2 separate regions of the Homo sapiens genome follow, and region 2 is linked to region 1. Evidence: promoter capture Hi-C in 16 types of primary human blood cells and fetal thymus (Javierre and others, 2016). All regions are on one chromosome and are shown on one strand. The core of a region is centred on a gene start or on the middle of the fragment in contact, and the rest is flanking DNA. Distances in the headings are between cores, read along the strand shown.

What was found. Contacts are between HindIII fragments. The CHiCAGO score rates a contact against its expected background, and 5 or more counts as called.
Region 2: a fragment that was not itself captured here is called in contact with the fragment with the promoter of SPAG9 in region 1 in 1 of 17 cell types (fetal thymus); the score reaches 5.1 in fetal thymus.

Annotation. Positions count from the first base shown.
Region 1 is chr17:51,118,945-51,123,638 of GRCh38, reverse strand. It overlaps SPAG9 (sperm associated antigen 9), which reads left to right and starts at 2,771. Exons shown (of 30, transcript NM_001130528.3): 1 at 2,771-3,285. The coding sequence starts at 2,983. RefSeq lists enhancers at 1,420-1,679, 2,289-2,518, 2,035-2,849, 3,139-3,258 and silencers at 2,659-3,038, 3,289-3,368, 3,389-3,518. The HindIII fragment of the contact is 3,961 bases long and covers 542-4,502 here.
Region 2 is chr17:51,252,400-51,257,093 of GRCh38, reverse strand. The region is part of intron 2 of MBTD1 (mbt domain containing 1); the gene reads left to right. Among named protein-coding and RNA genes, the nearest start is that of MBTD1, 5.3 kb to the left of the region's middle. The HindIII fragment of the contact is 1,224 bases long and covers 1,542-2,765 here.

The DNA.
Region 1 (4,694 bases), core at 1,522-4,021:
CCAGGCTGGAGTGCAATGGCTCGATCTTGGCTCACCACAACCTCCGCCTCCCAGGTTCAAGCGATTCTCCTGCCTCAGCCTCCTGAGTAGCTAAGAATACAGGTGCGGGCCACCACGCCCGGCTAATTTTGTATTTTTAGTAGATACAGGGTTTCTCCATATTGGTCAGGCTGATCTTGAACATCTGACCTCTGACCTCAGGTGATCCGCCCGCCTCGACCTCCCAAAGTGCTGGGAGTACAGGTGTAAGCCACCGTGCCTGGCCAAAAAAAATTTTTTTTTTTTTTTTTGTCAGGGATGAAGGTCTCACTATGTTGCCCAGGCTGGTCTCCAACTCATGGCACAAGCCATCCTCTTGCAAGTGCTGAGATTACAGGCGCGAGCCACCACGCCTACTCCCCTCCCCTCCAACGACTTTCTTTTTATTGCCAAATAATAGTCCATTGTATACCTATGTCACATTTTATCCATTCATCAGCTGATGGTTATTTAGCTGAATTTTATTTTAACTAAATGTTATCTCTGATAACTGGCAGAAGCTTAAAATCAAGACATAAGTGTGTATCTTTCTATGTTGAACGTATACCTAAAGAAGTATACTTATTAGGAATGACAATTAAAATCTCGTACTTGAAAAATCGATACTTTTTTCTTTTTTCTTTTTTTTTTTGAGATGGAGTCTCACTCTGTCGCCCAGGCTGGAGTGCAATGGTGTGATCTCTGCTCACTGCAACCTCCGCCTCCCAGGTTCAAGCTATTCTCCTGCCTCAGCCTCTTGAGTAGCTGGGATTATAGGTGTGCACCACCATGCCCGACTAATTTTTGTACTTTTTAGTAGAAATGGGGTTTCACCATATTGTTCAGGCTGGTCTTGAACTCCTGACCTTGTGATCCACCCGCCTCGGCCTCCCAAAGTGCTGGGTTACAGGCATGAGTCACCACGCCCGGCTGATACTTTTTTCTTTAAATTTTTTGATGTGTATGATAATATTGTGGAAAGAAAAAGTAAAGCCTTGCCCTATGTTTTTTGGCTCTTCTGATCCCCCAGGAAAAGAGAGGCATGCATATAGGTAGACCAGGTGAGTGACAGCCCTCAGGAAGAGAAAATAAAAGAGGAGAGATTCAGATCAAGACTTTTTCTAGTTTTCAAATATGAAAGGTTAAGAAGAGAAAGGGCATTTGCGGCTCACAGCCAACCAGCTGGTCGGCATTCCTACTACCCAAATATCTAAATGACATAAGGGTGAATGTGGGGTGAGGGTGAGAACGGGAAAAAACACAGGCCGCAAATTCAGTCCCATCTGGCACTTCATAAGACTTAGTATTTTCATCTTTGTCCTTCCAAATTTATAGGTTTACTCTTGCCCAACCTTCATATTGTTTTTATGGGTCTCCAGGTGGGTCATGCGTAGGAAACTTTAGGGGACTACTTCATACTTGGTGGGAAGTACTTAAACTTGTAAACCCCAAGCTAAGGGTAGTTATGATCCCGGTGGGTGGCCAATTCTCCCCTTAAACCTATGTTTATCCTGCCTTTCCTCCCCCTTTTCTTAAACGAGTCGGGACGGAGAGCTGAGTCACCTGAGACACAGAGAAGGGACTTTTGAGAGTGTCTTCCGTCCCATTTGCGGACGTTAGATGAGCACACCGGGATCCTTGACTCAGCCCGCTCTAGGCGTGGGCGTTGTGTCATTCCCCACACGTGACACTCTCCCAGGCGGCAGAAACCTCACTTGTCATGGGACTTATTCACTCCAGTGACTCCACCCCTTACCTCCTCTGTTCCCCAACCTCCCACTTACCCTTTCCGCCCCACTTCAAGACTTGAGGAGAGGAGGGTGGCTGGAGCCTGGAAATGTCCCCGTCCCAAGTTGGCCAGAAGTAGCAGACACACTATGTGGGAAAGTGCCACATGTAACGTTCCAGTTTCACCCTTCTCCAGAATGCTATCACCCTTCCTGTTTATTTTTTAATAACTTGAGATATAATTCACACGCCATATGATTCACTCACTTAACGTGTAAAGTTGAATGTCTTTTAGCATATTTAGAGTTGTGTATTCATCACTATAATACATTTTTTAGAACATTTTTATTATCCCAAAACGAAATCCCATACCTATTAGCAGTCACTCCCATTTCCCCTCATCTCACCCTTGCTCTTCCATAGCACAAAACAGTTCTATTCTATTCGAGACCACCTTTCCACTTGGGCAGACCCTGGTTATGGTTTTTTTTCCCTCCCTTTCTGTTTCCAGTTTTTTTCGGAGCCCGGAATTCTCAATCTGGGTAATTGGTTTGAGTCCCGGCTCAGCCCGTTTCCCGTTGTAGCTGCGTGACCTTGAGAGCAACGCCACTTTCCTGGGCCTAGTTTCTTTGTCTGTGAAACGAGGTCCAAATATCTACCTCTTTACGCCTGTTGTGGGGATGAAGTGAGTAGGTGCTTTGTGAGCTTTAAAAAGCCATAGAAATGCCAGCTAAGTTAACTCGTCACTCTTCCCGAACCCCTCCCTTTCCCCTGGGACCCGCCCCGCGAATCCCGCTGTGGATGGATACTTCTCCCCACCCGCCGACCGCAGTCTTTCCCATTGGCGCCCGCACCGTCTTCGCGGCGCCGGGTGTTGACGCCATGGCTTCCTCCGCCAGCGCCCGAAGACGCTTGGCCCCGCCCCCGGCCGCGCCTGGCCTCCCGCGGCGCCCCGCCCATCGGGCCGACGCGGCGCCGGCCCCGCCCCGCGGATGACGTGTGGCGCGCGCGGCCGGGCCGCCCCGGCAGTTGGTGCAGCGGCGGTTGGGGTGAGAGCGCCTACGCCACCCCTCCCCTCCTCCGGCCCCGGCCCCCACCCCGCCGGGCCCAGCCCCAGCCCCGGCCCGGGCTCCAGCCCTAGTACCCGTCCCAGCCCGAGTCGGGTCCGTCCCGTGCGGGCAGGTGCCGCCCCTCTGCCGGCGACGCCCCGGGCCGCCCGCCCGTCCGCTTGCCACCATGGAGCTGGAGGACGGTGTGGTGTATCAGGAGGAGCCCGGCGGCTCCGGGGCCGTGATGTCGGAGCGGGTGTCCGGCCTGGCCGGCTCCATCTACCGCGAGTTCGAGCGGCTTATCGGGCGCTATGACGAGGAGGTGGTCAAAGAGCTGATGCCGCTGGTGGTGGCTGTGCTGGAGAACCTGGACTCGGTGTTCGCGCAGGACCAGGAGCACCAGGTGGAGCTGGAGCTGCTGCGGGACGACAACGAGCAGCTCATCACCCAGTACGAGCGGGAGAAGGCGCTGCGCAAGCACGCTGAGGAGGTGAGGCCGGCGGCAGGGCGGGGGCCGCGGGATCCGTCTCCGGGGGCGGCCGGGGCGGGGTCGCGGCCCGGTCGGGGACTAGAGGCGCGACGGGCCTCCTGGAGGGCGGGCCTGAGGCCGATGCCCCCTGGGACCGATCCCGGCGGCCTCCAGGTACCCCGGGAGCCAGGCCGGCGTTGGAAGCCGAGGCCGGCTACTGAGTGTCCTGGGAAGGGAGCGAGATGGAGGAGGCAGGGCCCGGGGAGGAAGCGGCAGCCTGGCCTGAGGACACCTGGGGTTGGCCAAGGGCGGAGATTGTTGGGTGTCTGGTTGCTTCTTGTTGAGGGAAGTTTCCGACCACCGTGGGATAGTCAGATGGCGGTTCAAAGTTTTACCCTTGGGGAGGGGGACACTTCTGCCCTGGATATGTAACTTCCGCTAGTTCCAGTACCTTTCCAGGGGGTTGCCTTGCTTTGGGAAGTTAGAGATCTCCCTCTTTCGGTCAGTTTCTTCTTGACGTTTTAATCTTGTTGAGAAAGACGTCTTATTTTATGTTCTATGTGCCTTGGTTGACACTTTGTCAACTTTTAGATGTTGTGTGGCAGTACTCAATAAATATATAAACAATTTCGTTGGTATCCCAAACCAAAGCATTCCTCCGTATCAGGTTGTAACCTTGGACAGTTCCCTTCAAAAACCCTCCGTTTATTTATAAAAAGGATTGGGGGGCGGGGTTGGGAAGATGTAGGTGACAGTTGGCAACACTTTTTCCGTCTGAGTTTCCTTCTTAGACTGCTGTTTATACGTGCATTTGGCCACCTGTTAACTCTAGCACCCGAGCAGTGACCTGGGCGCCCTCACCTCGACTCTGTGAACCTTTTGGAGTTCTAGGGTGCAAGTGATAGGTCCTTGGCTTCTTGAGACTGACAAGGAGTTTAGCTTTCAGCCTGCGTTGGCGTTATTTCTGTGGACCTTATCAAAGGCAGGTGATGTGTCCTATTTTTGTTTCTCAAGCACCTAGCACACCTGCTTAAATACATGGTGATCAAAGGAGGCGAAATAACTAATTATTGAAGGAATGACATAGTATTTTTCAAAAAGACTTGAAGAGTTTTTAGGATGTGAGGTTTGTAGCTCATTTCCTGACACTGAATAGTAACACCATTAAATTTTTGTTTTATTTTGTCACGTATACCTTTGCATCTGGTTAAATAGTTCTTTTTCCTTTTTTAAAAGCTTGACTGTAGTGATGATTTTTAGTTCTGATTGTGGGATCCAATTTTCTCAAAGGAATGCTATTGAATTTGCCAAACAAAATTGCCTTTTTTTTTTTTTTTTTTTGAGACGTAGTCTCACTCTGTCGCCCAGGGTGAAGTGCAGTGGAGTGATCTTGGCTCACTGCAACCTCTGCCTGCCGGGTTCAAGCGATT
Region 2 (4,694 bases), core at 904-3,403, 130 kb before region 1:
ATAGATTTAATCATTATTTTTTAATAAACCTTGGCTTAAGGATTTTTTTACCTGCAAATTTAGGATTTCTCTTCTTGCTTTGCTGGAACCCACAATAAAAGGTGAAAAGGAAATAATTCCCATTTGAACAAACCCTGAATATGAGATAGGATGAAGTGATACAATAAGAGGGGTGCTGGCAGTGAGGTTGATGTCACAATTCTGCCATTGAGTAGCTCCATGGCCCTTGTTGGACAAGATCCTGTGCCTCCATTTTCTCATGGCAGTTGAAGGGTTAGTCTAGTATCAGCATAATCCAATAGAAGTTTCTGCAATGATGGAAATTTCCTATATCTTTGCTGTCCAGTTACGGTAGCCACTAGCCACATGTGGTTGTTGAGCACTTGAAATGTAACTAGTGGAACTAAAAATTGAAGAACTCAATTTTTAATTTTGCTGTTTTAGGCAATGTAAATTTAAGTAGCCAAATGTCTGGCATACTGGACATACACACATAGAACACTGTTTTCTAAGCATAACTAATCATTATAATCACTTCTTGGAGGCTCTTGTTAAAATACTAAACTTCTCTCCTATAACTTATTTAGTAGGTCTGCAGTGGGTCCTGGGAATGTGTTTTTAATGTATACCCCAGAAAGTTTATCAGGTTGGTTAGGGAAACACTCCATTAGGAGATTTCTGAGGTCCCTTCGAGTTCTCACTTTAGCACTGATAATTTAGAATTTAGTCTAGTAGAAGTGAGCTCTGGACAAAGTCAGCAAGCTACCTCTCTGAACTGCGATCTTAGGTGAGTTGTGTAACCTCTTTGAAAGCTTCACTTTCCTCATCTGAAATACAGGGTGAACATCAGCCCTGCCTCCTGTAGTTTCTGTAAACCTCCACTCAGATGTTATGCCCGCTGTTTAAAAAAAGTAAGCTGCTATAAAAGATGAGACAAGTCATAAGATAAAATGTTAAGATGTGTTCCCAGGCTTTCCTTCTTTTTCCTTTTTCACTATGTTTAATTCCTACTACTAGTCTTTTAAAACTGGTTGTATATAATACTCATTAGTTTGTTCAACGTTGTGGCCCAATTATTTGGCCACCGTTTGCAGTCTTAATTGTAGGACAGGAATGTTAAGTCTAATACTTCTTTGTATTTCTGGTGCTAAGCATAGTGATTTGTATATATCGTTCAATAAATATTGGTTAATATTAACCAGGTGTGTTGGCTAACGCCTGTAATCCCAATACTTTGAGAGCCCAGGACAGGCAGATTGCTTGAACCCAGGAGTTCAAGATCAGCCTGGGCAACATGGCGAAACCCTGTCTCTACAAAAAAAAATTACAAAAATTAGGTGTGGTGGCACACCCCTGTAGTCCCAGCTACTCGGGGGCAGAGGTGGGAGGATTGCTTGAGTCTGGTGGGAGACCCAGGTTGAAGTGAGCCATGATTGTGCCACTGGACTCCAGCCTGGGCGACAGAGTGAGACTCCGTCTCAAAAAAAAAAAAAGGAAAAAAAAAAGGTTATCATCATCTATTACTTTAAGACTTCTAAGCTTTAAAATTTGCTAGAGATTATTTTATACACCAGAGAAGTAGCCCCCTTGTGTATCTGTATGTGTTTAACCCATCTTTGTTTAATTATTAACACCCTGTAGTTACTATTGTTCAGTGATTTTATATCTTCTGAGCAACCAGTTCCAAATATATTTTTTAAAGGTAAACACCAAGAGAATGTTATCATTTCAGATCAAGTGTTTTTAGGTTATATCAGATCAATATGATACTGAATAAGCTGTTGAATTTACTTTCTCTTTTCTTTTTTTTTTTGAGATGGAGTCTTGCTCTGTTGCCCAGGCTGGAGTGCAGTGGCATGAGCTCGGCTCACTGCAGTCTCCGCCTCCCGGGTTCAAGTGATTCTTCTGCCTCAGCCTCCCGAGTGGCTGGGACTACAGGCAAATGCCACCACACCCAGTTCATTTTTGTATTTTTAGTAGAGGTGGGGTTTCATCATATTGGCCAGGCTGGTGTCAAACTCCTGACCTTGTGATCTGCCCGCCTCAGCCTCCCAAAGTGCTGGGATTACAGGCGTGAGCCACTGCGCCTGGCCCGTCTCTATGTTAACATACTAATAAATGATCTTGTTTGATCATTCAGACCACATTCGCCCTACAGACCCAGCTTGAGTATGAATTCTATTATTGGGGTAGAATTGATAGCTGATAATGATCTCAGGGAATCTCTAGGCCACTGCATGTTTCAGACTTAATTTTGATATGGTCATCTTATTTTTAATTAGCTTTCCAGGTTTGTACTTAAGGATTCATAGCTTTCTTCGGAAGAACTGAAAGCCTATTCATGTGAATTTTTTTATTTTATCATACATCCTTCCTGTGTGGTAAGTGATGTTTTTCTTATTTAGAAGAGAGGGAAACTGAGACCCAAGTAATTGTTACATCCGAAGTCATAACAGTGATAGGTCTAGAAGTTGAACCCAAAGAGGTAGAAATTTGTATTTCTTGTAGATCAAAGAATCACTTCCTTTTGTTCACTGTTGCTTTAAATCTTAAAATATTGCTATGTAGAATATTGTCCTCTCCTATCATTCTCCTGGGTACTTTTCCATTTCTTTAGATGGGTTATTCAGAATATTATTGCTTTTGGTTTCCTCTTGATTGTATCATTGACATGAATTTATTCTTGCTTGCACATTGAATTTGTGGGAAATAAAAACTCAGTAATCCCAAATCCTTACCATTTATGTTCCTCGTAACAGTAAGCTTAGAAAGAAAGAAGGCATTTCTCTTTACACTGATGAGTTTTATCACTATACCAGAATGTGCTTTCATCCTCATAGTATAATAGAATGAAAAAGAGGCCTGCAGGAGCTAAATAGCTCTTGAGCTCCTACCAAGTTCAGTCATTGTAGAGTATGTATTAATCTCTGTTTACTACTTTGTGATCTCATGCATACAACATTCAAATTTAAGATTCTAGAAAATATTTGCTCCATAGCTAAATATAAAAATTTGAAAATTATGTGAGCCACTGCTCCCAGTGGGTTTGGATAATGAAGAATTGGTTGACTTCTGATGAGTTTATTCATATCTGGTGAGTTTACTCATATTGAAATTACACTATTATTAATATTACTTGGCTCCATGTTTATTGACACCTGCATTTAAGATTTCAAGTGTTTTCTGTCATTTCTCCCAGAGATGTTTAGTTTTGTTGGAACTTTTGTTTGGTTATACCAATAAGTTAATGACTATGCTTTTTAATTCCCTTGTAGATTTCATAGGGAGGATGGTTTACCTAAGTGACAGTTACAGTAGGACAATGAAGTTCTGTTGTGATTTGTGATCTCTTCTTTAATTTTGTCACTATAAAAACCTTTTATTTTTTATTATAGAAGTACACCTATAATGTTTTAAAAAAGAAAAATATTGAAAAGTTAGATTCATCTTCCCATGCCACTTCTACCCTGCTAAAAGTTTAGCTACTCCTAAGGTCTTTCTTAGTGCACATAAAAACAAACATACATATATTGATCTGTGTATATGCCAGTGTATATTGTCTCTTTGAATAAAAAGTGAGTCATATTGTGATATATTTTATTATACTATATATTGTGATTTATTTTTTCCACTCAGTATTTTACCTGTTGCTCATGATTCCCCTGCTGATTGTAAGTTTGTCTCCAGTTTTTCATTATTATTACATTAGCAAACATCCTTCTACATAGGTTCTTGTGTCCTTGTATGTATTATGTATGAGTATTTCTGAAGGACAGATTCCTAAAAATGGAATTACCTAGTCAAAAGGCATAGCCATTTTAAGTTTTCATATGTAATGTCAAATTGCCTTCCGGAAAGATAGTGTAAGGTTACCTTCCTACCAAGTGTATATGAGCACTGTTTTTCCCACATGTATTTACTGATACCAGATATCATCAATCTCTCAATATATACCAACTTAATTTTTTAATGTACTGTATACTTCATATAAATTAGCTTTTATTTTTATCAAAGTAATACATGCACTTGATAGTACAATAATTAAACAATGCTAAAAGTATTCCAAAAAAAATGGTCCTTGTCCCAATTCAGCTCTGATGAGACAACTGCTTTCATTCTTTTAGCTTTCTCATCTAGTATCTATCTCTCTAATTCTAAAGCTTAGGCTTATATTATTTATTTAGTATATGAATTTTAGACATTAGTGACTTTATAGTGGACAGGGAGTTAGAACATACACCCAAATATAAAGCAAGGTTTACCTACCTACAATCATTCCATCTCCCTACATTCAAGACCTTAGTCATCTAATATGATTTGCAGTTTTTTGGGGTTTTGTTTTGTTGTTTTGTTTTTTTTTGAGACAGAGTCTCACTCTGTCGCCCAGACTGGAGTGCAGTAGCTCAATCTTGGCTCTCTGCAACCTTCGCCTCCCGGGTTCAAGTGATTCTTCTGCCTCAGCCTCCCTGGTAGCTGGACTACAGGTGCCACCACCACACATGGCTGATTTTTGTATTTTTAGTAGAGATGGGGTTTTACCATATTGGCCAGGCTGGTCTGGAACTCCTGGTGGATTACTCCTCAAGTAATCCACCCACCCTTGGTCTCCCAAAGTGCTAGGATTACAGGTGTGAGCCACTGCACCTGGCCTCGGTTTTATTTTGAAGAGCAAAATGTTCATGAAGGCACGTTAC